2 separate regions of the Homo sapiens genome follow, and region 1 is linked to region 2. Evidence: promoter capture Hi-C in human tissues and cell types (Jung and others, 2019). All regions are on one chromosome and are shown on one strand. The core of a region is centred on a gene start or on the middle of the fragment in contact, and the rest is flanking DNA. Distances in the headings are between cores, read along the strand shown.

What was found. Contacts are between HindIII fragments. The study calls those that stand out against the background at their distance.
Region 1: a fragment that was not itself captured here is called in contact with the fragment with the promoter of GPR26 in region 2 in 4 of the 25 tissues and cell types used here (H1 embryonic stem cells, heart right ventricle, mesendoderm cells and 1 more).

Annotation. Positions count from the first base shown.
Region 1 is chr10:123,591,127-123,596,830 of GRCh38, reverse strand. No RefSeq gene overlaps it. Among named protein-coding and RNA genes, the nearest start is that of GPR26, 72 kb to the left of the region's middle. The HindIII fragment of the contact is 5,225 bases long and covers 1-4,988 here.
Region 2 is chr10:123,661,843-123,667,989 of GRCh38, reverse strand. GPR26 (G protein-coupled receptor 26) reads right to left here and starts at 1,635. Exons shown (of 3, transcript NM_153442.4): 1 at 915-1,635. The coding sequence starts at 1,582. RefSeq lists enhancers at 813-1,350, 1,351-1,889, 1,890-2,427. The HindIII fragment of the contact is 11,073 bases long and covers 1-4,364 here.

The sequences.
Region 1 (5,704 bases), core at 1,127-3,626, 72 kb after region 2:
GGCCACAAAGCCGGTGGAGGACAGACACAGAGACAGTGCCACTTGTTGAGATCTGAGGGTGAGACACATGCCATCTTTGCAATTTGACATCTGGAGGTGCTAGGGTTGAAGGAAAGAGAGCCATTTTGGGAATTCTTCCTCAGCTGAGTTTTTGGGATAAAGAGTGAACCTGTAGGGCAGAGCAGCCATAGTGTCATCTGGCCAAAATATGCAGGTTGGAATGTGCCATGCCTGGACCCATGGAGCTAATTGGAAGGCTTATTGGTGAAGTTCAGAGACCACAAAGGAGATTCTGAGCACCCAATCTGTGGTTAGAGTAAGATCAGAGCAGTTCTGGGGCCCTCAGACGAGGGACCATGGGCCTTGTCCAGGTGTTTGTCATTGAAGTAGCCCAATTCCAAAGATCTCTGTGTGTCTCTTGGCACCAGGTTTCAAATAGTTGGATCAGGGAATGTGATTGGTCTGGCTTGGATCAAATGTCTCTACTTGGACCAACCAGTTATGGCCATGGGGACAAGATCACAAAGCCCAGAAAGCCCTTGGGGGCCACCCCTGTGAGTGGGGGCCACTTCTAAATGAGGAAAATGCCTGGGAGGTGGGCAGCCAGACCCTTTGTCCTCTTCCTCAACATGTGTGCCTACAAATATTTTCATATTTATGTCTGCTTTTTTGAGTGACTTTCTTGAAAGCAACTTTTCCTTCTGCTCCTCACATACCTATGAGGAAGCCAAACTGAGCATTTACCTCCAAAGAAGCAGCATTATTCTGCCCCTCTCATAACTTTCTTTAGATAAGAGGGGTTCCAAGGAATCATATTTCATAGATAAGAGCTGTTTTGCTATTGAAAGCCTTGTGGAAGCAGAACGACTCCAGTGAGCAACTATTGATGTGCCTGCCCACGTCCCAGGGCCTCTGGAGACACATGGGGTGATAAGTGTGCTGAGCAGGGTGTGGCTGGGCCCCTGCCAGGTGCTCAAAGTCCATCACTGACCACATGGAGTGACAGCACCTTCCCACCTTGGTCCTCAGAGCCTATCATCAGACCCAGCTATGCCCAGCCTCCTACCTGGTAGCCTGTTACTTCACTGAAGAGAAGGAGAAAGAAGACAAGCTTGCCCAGTAAAATCTGGGCAAGTAAAATCTGACCCAGTAAAATCTTGAAAGTAAAGTCTGACCTTTGGCTTCCTTCCTCACCTGTCCATTCTCAATAGGCAATGTTGCCCAGAAGGTGGCAAAAATTGGTTCTTTGGGGGAGAATAAAATCTTACTATTTTTATGTATGAAGCACAGATATGCATACATAACATAAATAGCTGTACAGTACATCTGTATTAAAATGTCATGGGGGTGGATCGATTAGGAAAACAGGTCTCAAAACGCTCCTTAGGGGGCGATATGAATAAAAATGTGTAGCAGTGCCTTCAGCGCTCTCCCTGAGTGGATGCTACTTCTACAGACATTGAACATCTTCCAGGGATGCTGTCCCTCCCAGCACCACAGATACACAGAGCAAAGATGCTGGTCCTCCCCTAGCTTCTCTCTTTTCAGGGATTGGAGACCCAGAGAGTGCAGGAGGTAGGTACCATGGAGACCAGATACTATCAGCCTATCATTAATCTTTGTCAGCTCTATTGAGGTAAAATTTGCATACAATCAAATTTGCCAATTTTAAGTGTACAATTCAATGAGTTTGACAAATATATCCACTAGTGGGATACCACTACAATCGTGATAGAGACTATTCCACCTCCCTGAAAAGGTCCTAAATGCCCCGTTGTGGTCAATCCCTTGCTACTCATCAGGCACTGGCAACCATTGATGTGATTTCCATTACTATAATTTCCTTTTAAAGTATTCCATATAAATGGAATCATATAATACATTGTTTTGTGTCTAGCTTCTTCACTTGACATAATACTTATGAGATGCACCCATGTTGAATATATTGGCAGTTTGCTCTTTTTTATAGCTAAGTGATATTTCACTCTATGGGTATGCCACAATGTGTTCATCTATTCACTAGTTGATGGACTTTGGGTTGTTTCTAGGTTTTGGATATTATGAATAAAGTTGTTATAAACATTAGTAGGCAGGGCCTTTGTGTGGACATATGTTCTCATTTGGTAAAGAGTGGAATGCCAGGGTCATATCCTACATGATTGTTTAATTTTCTAAGACACGTCAAAATGCTTTCTTCCTTTCTTTTTTTTTTTTTTTTTTTTTTTGAGACGGAGTTTTGCTCTGTCACCCAGGCTGGAGTGCAGTGGCGCATCTTGGCTCACTGCAAGCTCCACCTCCCGGGTTCACACCGTTCTTCTGCCTCAGCCTCCAGAGTAGCTGGGACTACAGGTGCCTGCCACCACACCTGGCTAATTTTTTATATATTTTTTAGTAGAGATTGGGTTTCACCGTGTTAGCCAGGATGGTCTCAATCTCCTGACCTTGTGGTCCACCCTCCTCGGCCTCCCAAAGTGCTGGGATTACAGGCGTGAGCCACCGTGCCTGGCCTCAAAATACTTTCTAAAGTGGCTGTACCATGAACCATGTATTAAAAATCCAACTGTTCCTCATCTTCACCAATATTTGGTGTTGTCCATCTCTTTAATTATAGTCATTTGTGTGTATGTGTGGGGGGGTGTGTAGCATTTCATTTTTGTTTTAATCTGCATCTCCCTAATGACTAATAATGTTGAGCATATTTTTGTTTCCTTACTTGCCATCTGAAAAACATTTTAGGTAAAGGGTCTGTCGGAATGTTTTGACCATTTTTAAAAGATAGGCAGATCACCTGAGGTCAGGAGTTCAAGACTAGCCTGGCCAACATGGTGAAACCCCATCTCTACTAAAATTACAAAAATTAGCTGGGCGTGGTGGTGGATGCCTGTAATACCAGCTACTCGGGGTGCTTAGAGAGGAGAATTGCTTGAACTCAGGAGGCGGAGGTTGCAGTGAGCCGAGATCACACCATTGCACTCCAGCCTGGGCAACAAGAGCAAAACTCCATCTCAAAAAAAAAAAAAAAAAAAATTGGGCTGTATTTTCTGGATGCAAGACTTTTGATTGGATCTATGTTTTGCAAATATTTTCTCCCAGGCTGTAGCTTACCTTTTCATCTTTTTAACATTATCTTTGAAAGAGCAGAAGTCTATAATGTTGGTGAAGTTCAATATTTATGTGTGTGTTTTCTTAAAATTTGTGCTTTTTGTGTCCTATTTAAAAATATTAACTTAATCCAAGGTCAAAAAAGGTTTTCTGCTCTTTTTTTTCTTCCAGAAGCACAATAGTTTTAGCTCTTGGATATAGGTTTATGACACTATTTGAGTTAATTTTTTATTCAATGTACAGTAAGGTTTGGGAACTTTTTTCTGTGTAGATATCCAGGTATTCCATTAACATTTACACATTGAATTGCCTTGGAGCCTTGTAAAAAATCAATTGACTATATATGTGTGAGTCTATTTCTGGAGTCTCTATTCTCTTTCATATATTTATATATGTATATATATGTATATATATGTATATACATATATATGTATATACATATATATGTGTATATATATGAAAGAGATGTATGTGTATATATATACATATATATACACACACATATATATATAGCCAAAATCCACACTGGCTTGACTACTGAAGCTTTTTAGTAAGCCTTGAAATCAGTTAGTACAAATCCTCCAATTTTGTTCATTTTCAGAATTGTTTTGGCTAGTCGACATCCTTTGTATTTTTATACAAATTTTAAATTGTTTTGTTAATGTCTACAAAGGACCCTGCTGAGATTTTGATTATGATAATATTTTAACTATAGGCCAATTTAGGAAAATTTATATCTTAGAATTAATGAGATTCTTATCCATGAGCATGGTATATCTCTATTTACTTAGATCTTCTTTAATTTCTCTCAAAACAGCTTTGTAGTATACATGTGTTGTATATCTTTTGTTAAATTTATTCCTAGATATTCATAATTTGGGTGTTATTTTAAATGTTTGAATGTGTCCTTTAAAAAGCACGTGTTGGAAACCTAATCCCCAATGCAAAAGTGATGGGAGGTGTTTAGGTTATAAGGTCTCCACCCTCATTAATGGATTAAATATTATTTAACTCCAATTTCCAATTATTTGTGGTTAGTATGGAGAAATACTGCTGACTTTGTATAACAACTTTGTACCCTATGATCTTGCTAAACTCATTTATTATTGCTAATAAATTTAAAAATATTTCTGCTGTGGTTTGAATGTGTTCCCCAAAAACCACGTGTTGGAAACCTAATTCCCAATGCAATGGTGATGGGAGGTGTTTAGGTTATGAAGTCTCCACCCTCATGAATGGATTAATGCATTTATAAAAAGGCTAAAATTAAGGCTGAAAGTTAAGCATCTTGCTCTCTCTCTCACCCTCTCTTTACCTTTCTGCCATGGGATGATATAACAAGCAAGGAAGCCATTGCCAGATGCCTGCCCCTTGATCTTGGACTTCTCAGCCTCCAGAATCAGGAGTCAAAACATTCCTGTTCTTTATAAATTACTCAGTCTGTGGTGTTCTGTTATAGCAGCACAAAATGAACGAAGAAACACTGTCAGTATTTTCTATATAGACAATCAGGTTGTCTGTGAATAAAGACAGTTTTACATTCCCCATTTTGTTCTTTTATTTCATTTTCTTCTGTTAATAAACTGACTATGACCTCCAGTACAATGTTGAACAAAAGTGTTAAGCAAAGACATTCTGGCCTGCTTTCTGATGTTAGGGGGAAAGCATCCAGACTTTTACCATTAAGACTGAGGTTAGCTGGAGATTTTTTCTAAACAATATTGAGGCAGTTCTTTTTGTTCCTACTTGTTGATAGTTCATGTCATGAATGGGTATGAAATTTTGCCAAATGCATTTTTTGCATATACTGAGGTGATAGTATTGTTTTTTATTTTTTGTTGGTTAATATAATGAATTATATTGATTGCTTTCTAAAAGTCATACTATGCATTTCTATGATAAATCCCATCAAGTCATAGCTTATTTTTATATACACTGATGCATTCAATTTAATACTATTTTGTTGAAGATTATAGAATTTATTTTAATGAGAAATTTTCATCTGTAGTTTTATGTCCTTATAATGTATATCACTGGTTTTGGTATCGGAATAATGATGGCCTCATAAATTAGTGGGAAAGTGTTTCTTATCATCCATTTTCTAGAAGAGTTTGTGTAGAGTTGGCATCATCTTCTCGTTAAATGTCTGGTAGCATACTCATCATTGAAGTCATGCAGCCCTGGAGTTTTCTTTGTGGAAAGGTGTTTTAACTACAGACTTAATTTTTAAATAGATTTAGGACATCAATTTTGTTGATCTTTTCAAAGAACCAAATTTTGGTTTCATTGATATTTCTCTACTCTTTTCTCTTTGTTTTCTATTTTACTAATTTCTGCTCTCTATTGCAGTCATCCCTTGGTATACAGAGGGGATTGGTTCTAGGATCTCTGCATATATCAAAATCCACACATACTTAAGACCTGAAATCAGCCCTGTAGAGCTTGTGTATATGAAAAGTTGGCCCTCCATATATGTGGGTTTCAGATCCCACAAATACTGTATTTTTTATCTATGTTTGGTTGGGGGAAAAAACTCTATGTATAAATGAGCCCATGCAATTCAAACCCATGTTGCTCAAAAAAAGGCTAAATGCATTTCCTT
Region 2 (6,147 bases), core at 386-2,885:
ATGTAAAATAGCAGAGTCCAGACGCTGCCAGCTGTTTCCCTCCTCGATTTCCTATTCTCCTGGGGAAAGCTGAGGTGAGCTCAGGACAGCGCAGCTAAGAGTTCCCTCCTTCTCTCCCTGACAGGCTCCTGCGATGGCAGGGGTTCCCAGAGGGTACCCATGCTTGCCCAGCTCCATCTGCCCTCCTGAGAACAGCAGCCAGCGTGACGACGGAGGTGGGGGCAGATTCAGCCCCAGGAGCCTTGGGGCACACTCCTTCTGCAGGAGCCTCTAGGCACCAAGTCAGGCAGACATTGGACAGTGCTCTCTGGGGAGGGCAGGAAGAGCCCCCCACCCCACCCCTCAGGGCCCACCACAGAGAAGGACGCAGCCCGAGTCCATCAGAATTCACACACACACACACACACACACACACACACACACACACAGTCGTGAGACAGAGGCAGCGCCACACACCCGAGAAGGGAAAGACTCAGAGAAGCGACACACTTGGGTCTGAAAAGCTCTTAAGGAGCTCCCTAAGCATCGAGGCCGCCCTCTCGGCCAGAATCAAACACTTTGAAGGTCTTTAATAGGGAACAAAGACCACGGACTTCCCATGTGCCATTTAAAGTGAAAGCTACAAACACAGAAAATGTGCATGAAGAAGCCCAACAGAGTTCTGACTGTCTGTGATTTCTACCCTGATGCTTCAAAAACCGATGTATAGATGGGCTCACCCGCATTTTTTGTGGCCCTGGTTTGCTGATACCCTAAGCACCTCCTTAAGCCCCACAGCTGGGCCGCTTTCCCCACCCTCGAGTTCTCAGAAGAAACAGAGGCTCGGTGGAAAAGAGCCCCTGGGGCTAGGGACCTCCCACTCCCGCCGAGATCCCGCGCGGCTGTTCCCAGAGCCTTAGCTGCGCTCGGCTCACCTGGGGTGCAGGTCCACCAGCAGCACCAGCGTCTGCATGGTGATCACGTCGATGCGCTTGCAATGGAAGCGGGCCACCTTGAGCACCTTGAGGTACGTGCAGCAGAGCACGACGAAGGAGAGCAGGAAGCTGAGAGCGTGGAAGGCGCCAGTGAAGACGGCGAAGCGCAGGCGCTCGTCTGGCCGCCGGCTGCACAGCGTGCACGAGGCGTACAGCTGGTGGAAGCCGAGCCAGGACAGGGCGAGCGCGGCGGCTGGGAAGGTGAGCGCGTGCAGCCACGTGTAGGCCACCATGAGCGCCGCGTCGCGGAGGCGCATCTTGGCCCGGTAGCTCAGCGGGAAGACCACGGCCACCCAGCGGTCGATGCTGAGCGCGGCCATGCTGAGCATGGAGTTGGCAGCCAGGAAGGTGTCGAGGAAGGCAGCCAGGCGGCACAGGCGGTCGCCCGCCGGCTGCCGCTGCGCCACGACGCCGGCCAGCGTGAGCGGCATGTTGACCACGGTGCACAGCAGGTTCCCGCACGTGAGGTTCAGGGTGAAGAGCGCCGGCGCCTGGCGGCGGATGTCCGCGCTGTGCAGCAGGCAGAGCAGCACCAGCGCGTTGGACAGCAGCGAGACGCCCATCGTGCCCACCAGTAGCCCCGCCAGGCCCGCGTCCCACGAGTTCATGGTGCGCGCCCCGCGCCGGCGCTCAGGGTCCGCAACCCGGCGCCGCCATGGCGCTGCCCGCGGCCGGCTCAGCCCCTCGGCGCCGCCGCCGCCCGGCGACCACCGGCCCCAGCCGCCATGGCTCCCAGGAGGGCGCGCGGCCACCCCGGAGCCTCAGGCGGCCTCCCGGGCAGGCGTCTGGGCGCGCAGCCACCCGGGAGCCCCGCGCCGCCTCACGGGCAGGCACCTGGCGCGCGGCAGTGAACCCTGGCCCCCAGCAGCACCTCTGGAGCCAGCGACTGAGCGTGCGGTAGAACCCGAAGCCTTTAGCGCCCCGGGATCCTGGGTTGCAGGCACCTGCGCCCCTGCTCCGCCTCTGCCTCTGCTTCCTCCCGCTCTCACCCCATGCCCGCGAGCTCTGTCTCCGCTCCGCTCCGCGCACCCTCCCGCTCTCTTGCTTTCTCTCTTCCTCCCTCTCTGCTCTCTGGCTCGCTCTCTCTCTCTCTGCTCTCCCCTCCACCTCTCTCCCTCTCCCCGCCCCCCGCGCTGTTCTCTCCGTCTGTCTCTCCCACCCCCAATTTTCTCCCCTCTCTTGTTCTTCCCCCTCCTCTTCTCTCTGTCTCTGGAATCTGGCTGCTTCTATCACAGAAATCCCCACTGGTGCACACACAGACACACTCGCGCACACACACTCACACTTACAGGCTCGGAGGGAACCAGCCCCGAAGGCTCCGGTGCAGGGTGATTGGCTCACTGTGGCTCCCTTCCCCCAACATCCTCCATCCCCCCGTGTGTGTCAAAGACAGGCTGAGTCAAGGAAATCTCTCTGAGAAAAGGAAGGGATGCCTGGACACCTTCACGCCCCAGTGCCACCTGTCCCCGCCTGCATGCTATCCTGGCAGACCTTGACGTGAGTGTCCCAGCCTGTCTGTCCCAAGAACAGCTGCTGCATGACTGAGGTTACTCGATTCTCAGTGCCTTCTTTCCCTCGCCCTACAGCCAGAGCTTCGGCTGAATCCTAAGCCTGCTGCAGGGACCCCGAGGCTCTCTGTAACATCCCCTGGGCATCTCTCCAGCTGGGAGATGCCTTTGCTGACCCTGACTGCTCCCACCTGGGCAAGCCAGGCTGTCCACAACCAGCCTAGACAGCTAACCCTAGTATGGTGGATACTCTGTTGTCCTGCTCCAAGTTCCAGCAGCTGCCTCCTGTAGCCCTGAAGCCACACACCCCTCTGCCCTGAGACTGGTGAGGCAGCACATTCTAGTTTATGAGGGACCTGCCTGATATAAGGTGCCAGAACTCTTCAGAAAATGGGGAGGGTGTCAGCTGGCAGGCATGGTCCAAGCAACAGAGACCCTGGACACAGGGGACCCCTGCCTCCCCTCAGCAAAGTGTGCAGGGACTGTGGCCCTTCGGTTCTCAACCAAGACTCTGTGGGGAAGGGGTGGGGATGGACAGGCAGGGGCAGCTCTCAGAACCCCTGCAGCCCCCTTCAACTCTGTGAGATGCTGCCCTGCAGTGACCCCCTGCACCATGTCAGCAACCTCAGATCCCTGTCCTGGACATAGAAAGCCCTGTTCTGGAGCCTCCTGGTGTGGCCAGTGGTGACTGGACATTCCTGGGCCTCAAGCCACTAGATAAAGTAAGCCAAGCAAGGACGTGGTGGACTCTACGCCCTGAAGGTAGAGACCTCATTATACTTAATTATCTCCTTCACATAGTACCAAGCACATTGTAGATGCTGTATTGTGCCATTTTTCTTTGCTGTAAAGGAATACCTGAGATTGGGTAATTGATGAAGAAAAGAGGTTGAATTGGCTCATGATTCTGCAAGGTATGCAATCATGGCTCCAACATCTGCTCAGCTTCTGATGAGGGCCTCAGGAAGCTTCTAATCATGGCAAAAGGCAAAGTGGGAGCAGGCATGTCACATGGCAAGAGTGAAAGCCAGAAAGAGAAGGGGGAGGTCCCAGGCTTTTAAACACCATATCTCTCATGGACTGAGAAGTCATTCAGGATGGTGCCAACCCATTCATGAGGGCTCTGCCCCCATTATCCAATCGCCTTCGCCTCCCACCAGGGCCCACCTCCAACATTGGGGATTATGTTTCAACATGAGATTTGGAGGGGACAAACATCCAAACTTTATTAAATGCTCATGAAATGAGGTGTCAGGAGGGCAGAAACAAGATTCCCTCTCTTCTCTGTGTGTCCACAGATGACACTCATTGACAGTTATCTGAGTGACTGACAGCTGCAGACAGTGGAGTTCTGAAGCCAGCTCACACCAGCTCAAAAGGGCCCATTATGGGCATCTCTCTCCATCTCTGCTTCAGTGACAGCATGTTGGTTGCTTAAAATCCACCACAATGAGTTTTTGCATTATAGAAATCAGCAAACTCCATAGATCAGGGCTTCTCCCACCCCAGCCTGTGGTTAAACATTTAACGACACACCACTCACTGATTTCATAGGACCCTGGGCAACTTACTCAACATCCCTGAGGCTAGGTTTTCTTATTTACCTTTCAGAGCCGTGGTGATGACTACATAAGGTAATGTGTACGTTTAGCTTTGCTTCCCAGAGAAGGAAACAGGGCAGAATGCTAGCAATATCATCAACCCTTGGCCCCCTCATGTAGCCTACAGATTTTAGTGTTGGCTACATGTCTCATTAAATACCTGTTATATGACAGCAGAGGACGCTGTTCATCTGTGTGTCTCTCCTGCTGCCAAGGAAGTGTCCCCTACAAATAGCTCCTGGCAGGAGATAGGAGCTATTTGTGCTATAGTTTGAATGTGTCCCCCAAAGTTCATGTGTTGGAAACCTGACCCCCAATGCAACAGTATTGGGAGGTGGGTCCCAATGGGAGGTGTTTGACTCATGGAGGCACTGCCTTCATAAGTGGATTAGTGCCATTATCATGGGAATGGGTTCCTTATTAAAGGATGAGTTTGCCACCACCCCCTCCTTCTCTCTCTCTCTCTCTCCCTGTGTGTCTCCCTCCCTCTGCTCTTCCACTTTCTGCCAGGGGATGATGTAGCAAAAAGTCCCTCACCATATGCCAGCCCCTGAATTTTGGACTTCCCAGCCTCCAGAACCATGAACAATAAATTTCTATTCATTACAAATTACCAAGTCTCAGGTATTCTGTTATATCAGCACAAAATAGACTAAGATAGTGCCCAAGTACTGTCTGTGGAGTAAATCAGCCAATGTTTTGGGGTCACTATTGGATCTGTGATTCTCACACTTTTGTGTGTATCAGAGTCACCTGGTAAGCCTGGGGTGCTGGTTAAAGAGTTTGATTCCTGGGCCACACCCCCTGGGGTTTCCAAATCAGAAGGTCTGGAAGTCTGCATTTTCATGAGCTCCTTAGATAGTTCTGGTGAGGGTGGTCTGTGGTCATGCTCTCAGGAGTGTGCTCTATGAGAAATGGTCAGGGTAAGCCACTGGATGCCAAACAATCACCTGGGCACATCCTCCAACCATGACCTGATGTTCTGGCCTGGAGGCACTCACTGAAGCCTCACCAGAGACTCTAGACATGCGGGATCCCATTTATATTTTTATATCTTTATATAAATATTTATTTATATTTATATTGACAATATAACATGTCAATTAATATTCTCCTAGCACATTGGAGTTTATAAAACATGTCCAAACATTACCATACTTTATTTAGTTCTTGCAACAAAGACAGGAAGAAAAGCTTCTATTGCTGCCCCACGTTTTCCAGATGAGAACCCAAAGACTCAAAGAAGTTAAGTGACAGAGTTGGTGAGGGATGAAGCCAGTACCTCTAGCTCCATGGCTTGGCTCTTTCTGCACACTCCAGAGGTCCTCAGCCACCTTCTCAGGAAGGTGTCCTTGGGCTGTAACTTAAAAGTGTCTCAATTTTGCAACACCAAACTGATGTTGGTGACTTGGTAACTAGGTCCAACATCAATAAACAAATGAACACACACACACACACACACACACACACATTTATATACCCTCTCACATATTTTAAAGATCATTTGCTTTCTGAATTCCTAAAGGCAACATTGAAAGGTTAAAATGCCAGAAAGACACTCAGAATATATTAACTCAGTTTCCTAAAGAGACTGAGCTCATTTTCCTCTAGTTTTAAGCAAAATTTCCTGCCTTCAGTTGGACCATGGTTTGAGGGGGCGCTGATATCCCATAGTAACCAGGGCCCCAATCCTGTTAGCTTCAGCCAGGCTGAGCCTCCCCAAACATGGATTCCAACATGGCCCCAGACACCAGTTGGCAGTGAGATCACACTCAGCAAGGAGGGGAGATGCATGTCCCTATCCAGGCCTTGATACAAGTCCTCACTGCACCTCCATGAAAAGCCACATGATTGATCCCACCTGACCAGGGGCAACAAGGCCTGGAGTGTGCCCACCAGGAGAACACATTGTGGCTGGATCTGCATGGCTTGCTCCTTCAAGCTGGAGGGAAGTCAGCAGCAATGGAATGTTCGTGACAGAGTCAACGTGAATCACTAAATGCTGTAACTGGTACCCAAGGGAGAGCTCAAAACAGAACTATGGTAAAGGCAGATGGAAGTGCA